Regions from separate parts of the Homo sapiens genome. Here region 2 is linked to region 1. Evidence: promoter capture Hi-C in human tissues and cell types (Jung and others, 2019). All regions are on one chromosome and are shown on one strand. Each heading gives the region's core, a stretch centred on a gene start or on the middle of the fragment in contact. The rest is flanking DNA. Distances are from core to core; before and after follow the strand shown. Region 1 holds the start of SLC13A2 (solute carrier family 13 member 2). Region 2 has its middle 35 kb from the start of NOS2.

Evidence for each region. The method cuts DNA at HindIII sites, captures the fragments that hold promoters and counts their contacts. A contact is called where the count stands out against the background at its distance.
Region 2: a contact is called between a fragment that was not itself captured here and the fragment with the promoter of SLC13A2 in region 1, in 2 of the 25 tissues and cell types used here (dorsolateral prefrontal cortex and pancreas).

What each region holds. Positions count from the first base shown.
Region 1 is chr17:28,470,902-28,474,991 of GRCh38, forward strand. SLC13A2 (solute carrier family 13 member 2) reads left to right here and starts at 2,743. Exons shown (of 12, transcript NM_003984.4): 1 at 2,743-2,913. The coding sequence starts at 2,812. The HindIII fragment of the contact is 27,138 bases long and covers 1-4,090 here.
Region 2 is chr17:27,833,453-27,837,093 of GRCh38, forward strand. No RefSeq gene overlaps it. Among named protein-coding and RNA genes, the nearest start is that of NOS2, 35 kb to the left of the region's middle. The HindIII fragment of the contact is 6,535 bases long and covers 1-3,641 here.

The DNA of each region.
Region 1 (4,090 bases), core at 1,493-3,992:
AGAGACCATTTCCTCTCCCCCAAGGACTTGCAGCCAATCTCCGATAGCCCTGTCCAGGAGAGGCAATGGACAAAGTGCAGGGTAGGTGTTTCCTGGTAGTGACTCCTTCCTGAGATAGTACAGAGACCCATCACAGGGAAGGCCCCAGCAAAGACTGAAGAAGCCAGCCAGGCAACTACCGTATGTTACTCACAGTTCATTAGGAGCCATGCAAAAAACCACAGTTATCTGCTGCATTAATTAAAGGAGAAGGGGGTGGGGCAAAAGGGAATATTGAATAAGACCTGGCAGAGTGGGGCCCTGGCCATGACTCCCAGGCAAAGGGGAAGTTTTTGTAATGAATATGACAGCTGGAGTCTTCCCGCTGGCCTTGGGAATTCATCACTGCTTTGAGATGAATTCATCACTGATGGGGCCTGGCTGCTGGTGATGCAATAGCCCCCCAGTGCTGGGCCTCAAAAAAGAATCAAAGAAGGTCCCAAAAGCCTATGTCTTAGAAGAGGGCTGTAGGGGGAAGCCAGAGGGTCTCAGTAAAACATTGAGTTTTGTCCCAGCTCCATCAAAGGAGACCAGAGAATGGAGGGCTGAGCCAAGGGCACAGCCTTCCTGGAAACAAATCTGCATTCTCTCTGTTACTCACAAGGTGTGTGACTCTAGACGAGTAACCTCACTGCCCTGAGCCTACATCACAGAATTGGTATGGAGAGTTAGGTAAACTGGGATGCAGATTTTACACATGGTGAAGCTGGGCCTGGTTTTTTTTTTTTTTTTTTTTTTTGTGGCTCCTTAAAAGCCTCAGGCCATGGGAGAGGCTTCCACCAAGGTGAGATAGAATCGGGGCATTGTCCTGAGTGTCTGAAACCCTTTGTCTCTCCCTGTCCTTCCTGGCTCTTGCTTACTTTGCCCTGGGCAGGTGGCAGGCCACTGTGTGGGAGTGAAGGAGCCATGCCTGAAGGGGGGCTGGGGTGGCTAGCCTGTACTCTGTTACTGTAGCATCCCACCAGCCTGGCCTCGCTCCAGGAGCCCTCGAACTGGATCCCTCTGACCTCTAGGACCGCCCTGCAGAAAGCACCAGGGGCCTTTCTCTAAAAGATCCACTGGCTCCAGGAGTGTCTCGGTGGCATAACAGCCCAGGCCATGCTATGGTACACCTAAAACTATAGTTATCAGCTCTTAATCCTGTCCCCCGCAAATCCACATTCCAACCACGCAGAACCTTCTGTTCTCTAAACGTCCCCACGCTTCTGCATCTCTTCCCAGACTGTCTTCGCTGCCTGAAACATTCTCCCTGATACCCCGCCTCCTTATCCTAGCACACACGGATCATCATACTCTGATAACCTCAGAAACATGCATTGACCTTCAACTGCGTGCAGTCAGGGTGAGGAGGGGTGAGGGCGCCAGGAGACTGAGGGTCTGGCCAGAGATAAGACCCACAATTTCTTCCAAACTACAACTTGCTCCGTTCAACATACATACACACACACACGCATGCACTTGCCACCCTCCAGGCCTTCGTTCACTCTTCCCTCTCCTTGTGCCCCTTCCCCTATCACCTCGTGCCAAGTAAGACTGAGCTCTCAAGCCTTCGCTCAGATGCCATCTCTTCCAGGAGCCCTTGCCTGGTGCCTTTCACCCAGAGCTTCTGCCCTGGTTTGGACCTCCCTCAGGATACCCATAATGCATGTGTGAATTCTGGCTGGCTCCATGTCCTTTGGCCTCAGTTCCCCCATCTGTTAAATGGAATAGTAACACCTAACCCATGGTGTAGTTACCGAGTTGATGAAGTACAGTAACTGACTTGTACTAAGTGCTGAGCAAATGTCAGTCTTTACCACCAGCAGCAGCAGCAGCATTTTAATCTCTGTATCTTTAGCACTGAGCACAGGGCTGAATACATAATTGGTACTAAATACTTGCTTGGTGGAGGGATGGATGGATGGATGGTTGGATGGATGGATGGATGGATGGATGGATGATGGATAAATGAGAGATCTAGTATGTTTCCAAAATAAGAGACAATCTTTGCTGGGGGGCGAGGGGGCTAGGAAGAGCCTGAAAGAAACTAACCTTCATCGTACACCTGCCATGCATCAAAGCTCAACATATATAAGTTGTCTAATTTGAGCCTCACAATAGCAAGATATTACTGCAGAATAAGGAAGTGGCTAATTCTGAGAGGTTAAGTCGGTGGATCAGTGTCACACAAGATGTAGTCAGGACCAGGGACTTTGATGGTCCTCGATACCTGGAAGGAGGAGGAGGAGGACTTGCTCCAGGCCTTAGCTACTGTCAATCTTAGACTGAAAATTCCTAGGGCATCTCTGTGGGCAGGGCAGGGCCACCCCACCCAGGCTGTCACATAAAGTGCTCAGCTGAGAACCTAGCTTTGGAGAACAGCAGAAAGGAAAGGCCGGGCCAGCGGAGGTGGCTTGGGGGCTGCCTGTGGAGGGTGGCTGGGGGACTCTCCTTCCTTCTCCAGCTCCTCCAGCACCACCCTCAGCAGCCTCCAAGAACAGAAGGAGTTAACGCTGGGATTAACTTCTTGAAGGAACCTGAAGTTTTTTAATCCTTGTTCTTTCCTCCTTCCTTCTCCCTCTCCCTTCCTGATCTTTACTCCGCCTGTGGGTCCCTCCTCCTTACTCTCACCTCCCCAACTCCAAAAACACTCTGATTGCCAGACTGGGTCAATGGTTAACACTCAACTGGCTTTATATAAGCCTGCCACCTGCCTGCTTGGCTGCATCTTTGGTCCTTCTGTTACCCAGCTCCTGGAGGCAGTGGCTGTAGCAGCCCTTGCTGCTCCACACCATGGCCACCTGCTGGCAGGCCCTGTGGGCCTATCGCTCCTACCTGATCGTGTTCTTCGTGCCCATTCTCCTGCTGCCTCTGCCCATCCTCGTCCCCAGTAAGGTAAGGACTTGGTGTTCTGAGCACAGATAACTCCAGGGGGCAGAGGAGGGACTGTCTGGGCCGGGGTTGGGCATCCTTAGGATCCAGCATAACTTCCTCACTGCCCCTGCCCTGGAAGTGAGGCTATCGCCCCCTGCTCCTCCTGAGGACTGAGGGCTAGGAGGTCAAAGGGGCTTTTGCTTGGCACCCAGTTGTAGGAGCCCAGCGTGAATTACTTAGGTGGGTTTGCAACCTACTGCCCTAGGAAACAGGAAACCAGTTCCATCAACAAGATGCAAGGGGGGCAGATGGAGCTGATCTACCTACTGTGTGCCCACCTAGCCCTGGACTGGGCTCCATGGCGGCTGAGATGGGCTGGCTGTGGGGAGGGGACGGCTGGGTAAGCAGCAGCAGAGTGAAGAGGGTTGGAAGGAGAATAGGAGAAAGCTGGCTGCAGGCGGTCTGCATCTTTAAGAGCATAAACAGGAAGAGAAAGAGTTCACCTGTGGATTCAAGGGCTAAGTCTGTGGAGGAGGAGGGGTGGGAGTTGGAAGAGGGGACCGCTGCAGGTAGACAGCACAAAAACTGTGCCCTGGATGGAGGGGGAGCTGGGCACAACCAGGCGTCACTGCCTCCTCCTCCGCCCCCAGCAGAAGTCATAACTTCATCTCTCATTAAATCAAGCCGCCAATGCCTGCCCTGCCCTAGGCACCCAGTAACCTTTTCCACCATCTTAAGAGGTCAGGCCTGACTGTCCCATTTGACAAATGGGGAAGGTGAGGTTAAGTCACTTAGTCAAAGTCCCAGGGCAGATCCAAGTTTCATGGAACTTGGATATTATACACTTTTGGGCCCCACTCTGTAAGAAAAAGGACACAAAAGTATTAATCTGAAATTAGTTTGGGGCTTTGGGAAGGGTCCAGGGGGAAGGCCTTGAAGTTCAATCTTCAGTCAGTCGGCCTCTGGCAAATCACACAGCTGGGAGGTTCAGAGCTGGGGGTGTGATCTGGTGCCAAAGCATGTCTTCTCTCCACCCTGCTGCCTCCTGCCCCACCCCACACCCCCAGAACTGCCCATCAAGCCATTTTCTTCCTTTTGTCATAGATAGAGAAATTGAGTCAGACTTTTTTGTTCATGGTATCCCAAAGGGGTGAGAGACTGGGGGTGATAGTGGCACAGCCCCTGGGCCCCTGACACC
Region 2 (3,641 bases), core at 921-3,420, 640 kb before region 1:
CACATCTTACATGGCAGCAGGCAAGAGAGCATGTGCAGGGGAACTGCCCTTTATAAAACCATCAGATCTTGTGAGACTATTCACTATAAGGGGAACAGCATGGAAAAAACCTACCCCATGATTCAGTTACCTCCCACTGGTTTTCTCCCGCAACATGTGGGGCTTACGGGAGCTACAATTCAAGATGGGACTTGGGTGGGGACACAGCCAAACCATATCAGATATGTTCTGAGAAATGCATCATGAGGTGATTTCATTATTGTGCAAATATCATTGAGTGTACTTACATAAACCTAGATGGTATAGCCTACAGCATACCTTGGCTATATGGTACAGCCTATTGCTCCTAGGCTACAAACCTGTACAGCATGTGACTGTACTGAATACTGTAAGTAACTGTAACACAATGGTAAGCATTTGCATATCTAAACATAGAAAAGGCACAGTAAAAAAATACAGTACAAAAGTTTTTTTCAAAGGTATACCTGTAGAGGGCACGTACCATGAATGGAGCTTGCAGGACTGGAAGTTGCTCTGAGTGAATCGGTAGGTGAGTGGTGAGTGAAGATGAAGGCCTAGGACATTATTGTACACTACTGTAGATTTACTGTACATTTAGATGACACTAAATTCATTTAGAATTCCTTTCTTCAATAATAAATTAACCTTGGCTTACTATAACTTTTTTACTTTATAAACTTTTTAATTTTTAAAAAACTTTTTGACTCATAATAACACAGCTTAAAACACAAATACATTGCACAGCTATACAAAAATATTTTGTCTCTATTCTTATAAGCTTTTCTTGTTAATTCTTGTTTTTTTTTTTACTTTTTAAACTGTTTTATTAGAAACTAAGGCACACCACACATTAGCTTAGGCCTACACAGTGTCAGGATCATCAATATCACAACTGCCTTCCATCTCCACATCTTGTCCCACTGGAAGGTCTTTGGGGGAACAATGTGCATGGAGCTGTCATCTCCTGTGATAACATACCTTCCTCTGGAATACCTCCTGAAGGACCTGCCTGAGGCTATTTTATAGTTCACTTAAAAAAATAAGTACAAGGAGTATACTCTGAAATAACAGTAAAAAGTATATTGTCATATTCACATAGTCAATAAAAATGATAGTTATTTGTTTACATATGTATAGGAAATACACAAACCAGTAACATAGTCATTGTATTATCATTATCAAGTATTATATACCTTACATAACTGTCTGTGAGATATTTTTGTACAACTGCAGCACGGTAGGTTTGTCTACACCAGCATCACCACAAACATGAGTAATGCATTGCACTTGGATGCCAAGATGGCTATGACCACACCCAGACCTGCAACGCTGCAGGTATTAAGACCAGAGGTGTCTCCCTACTGATCCCAGCAAGTCCATTTGTGTGAAAACAGACAGGGAGCTGCCAGAAGTTCAAATGTAGGATTTCAAGTGCCCAGCCAAGTCATTGGCTCCCAGAATACATAATGAAAACCAACAACAAACAAATCGAAACAGCTCAGAAGCAAAGCAAAGTGCTATTGGAAAAGCAGCACCAGTGCTTTTGTGAGATTCAGAGATATAATCCCTGCCACCTCCAAAAAGAAGCAATAAGAACAATTATGTAAGATTCTTTAGGGCAAGGACTGAGATAGAGCAGGGACCCCTCATAGGAGCCTGTAGGCCCCTCCCTGCAACATGGAAATAAAGGAAAAGAGTTTCTTCAAGGGAAACTCCAGGCACCTAGCTAGCCCTGAGAAGAAAATGAGTGACCTGATCATTAAGAAGGTAATAGTAGCTTAAAACTATAACCAAGGAAGTTAGAGTCACAAGATGTTCCCTGTAGAACATTATATTTATCCCTTTATCCCTAACGATAACGTCTTAACATACGTTTCTCTGAGTTGTTTTTCAGGTACCTGGACCCCTACCAAATGGATCCACTAGCACACAGGCCTCAGATAAGGGGGAACTGCGGATTGAACTCTGACCACTCCTCTTTCTTCTGAAGTTCTTCCTGAGGGACCTGGAGGAAATCATACCCACAAACCAGAGCTTACATTCTTTTCTACTGACCCCAAATTTTTAGACAAAGCTTTGCTTCCTTAACCAATTGCAAATCAGAAAATCTTTGAATCTTTGAATGCTTTGAGACATCCCCCCTTTTTAGGTCAAAGCAATATATAGCCTCCATGTATTAATATGTAGTTGTGCCTGTAACCTCTGCCTCCCTGCCTTAAAAAACCCTTAACAAGCCATCGGGGAAGCCAGGTCTTAAGCATGAGCTGCTGGATTCTCCTTGCTGGGCACTCGCAAATAAACATCCTCCTTTCTCCCACTGCAAACCTTGGTGTAGATGTTTGGACTTACTGTGCCAGGTGAGTGGTCAGTGGATCCCAAGTGGATTCAGTAACAATTAGTTGGCAACTACAAAGGGGCGAAAGTCCCAACCGGTGGCCTTGCCCATGGCACACCAGCCCCTGGCTGCAGCCACCCTTGGACCCTGTCCGGCAGTTGGCTGAATTATTTTGCTCAGGGATGGATCCATGCATTTTATGCTTGACCAGGTGTCATGGGCCATGGCATTTTTACTTTTGTAGCATTAAAAATAAGGCACTGGGCTTGGAAGATGTCCTTCGTAAGTGGTAGGTTTGTGGGCAACAGCCCCAAGGTATTTTTTTCTTTGGACACTGGGTTCTGCTTTGGCAGGACAACTGACTTTGCTTTGGCAAGGCCCTGGGCCCTGCTTTCTTAGAGTATTTGGTTTGATTGGGGATACTCACTAGAGAGCTGAAGGGATCCAGAACTTGAGAAACCATATTTGGTTTTGACTTGCTGAAAACAGACTTGCTTGAAACTCTATCTGAAGCCTGGCTGAGGCAGCAAGGTTTTCATCACCTATGGTTTTGTCATCTAAAATGGGAAACACAAGCTCTATTCTACCTTGCAGCCCATTAGGGTGTATTCTGCAGAACTGGGCCATTTTTAGCTTTCAGCCCATGAAAAAGAAAAAGTTTTTTTTTTTTTTAATTGTAGTACTGCTTGGCTGCAATATTCTTTAGACTCTGGAGGAAAATGGCCTGAAAAGGGGTCCTTTAAATTGGACTCCTAAATTCAAAAAATAATTTTAGAGATCTCTTTTTCTAAACAGTTGATGGGAAAATCAAATTTTAAAAAGGAAATGCAATAGCGTCATGGCTAGCCTTAAGAATTCTCTTGACTAAATTAAAGAACAAAAATATAACCTAAAACAAAGTTAAAAAATATTGCAAGCTAAAAACTACATGACTTAGATCTTCTCCAGGAATAACAGCAAAGACCATTCCATACTGTAGTCTAGCAGCTAAAGTTCCACCATTTCACTACAGCAGCTTGGGTTCAGTCAGGGAACTGAAACCACCTTTGCAAAAATTATATCAATGAGAAAATTATGACAGTGAAAGAGATCTGATCTAACCCACCCTCCTCTTTCATTTCCTTTAATCATTCCTGGGTTTAGGCCTAGCTAACTTTGGAAGACACTTAGGTTATAGGCCTTCCCCAGAGTTCAACCACCTTTGTAAAGCTAATAAGAGACCCTCAGTCTAGGGGGAGGAGAGAAGCCCAAATTCTGCTAAGGCATAGACATAAATGACTGTCAG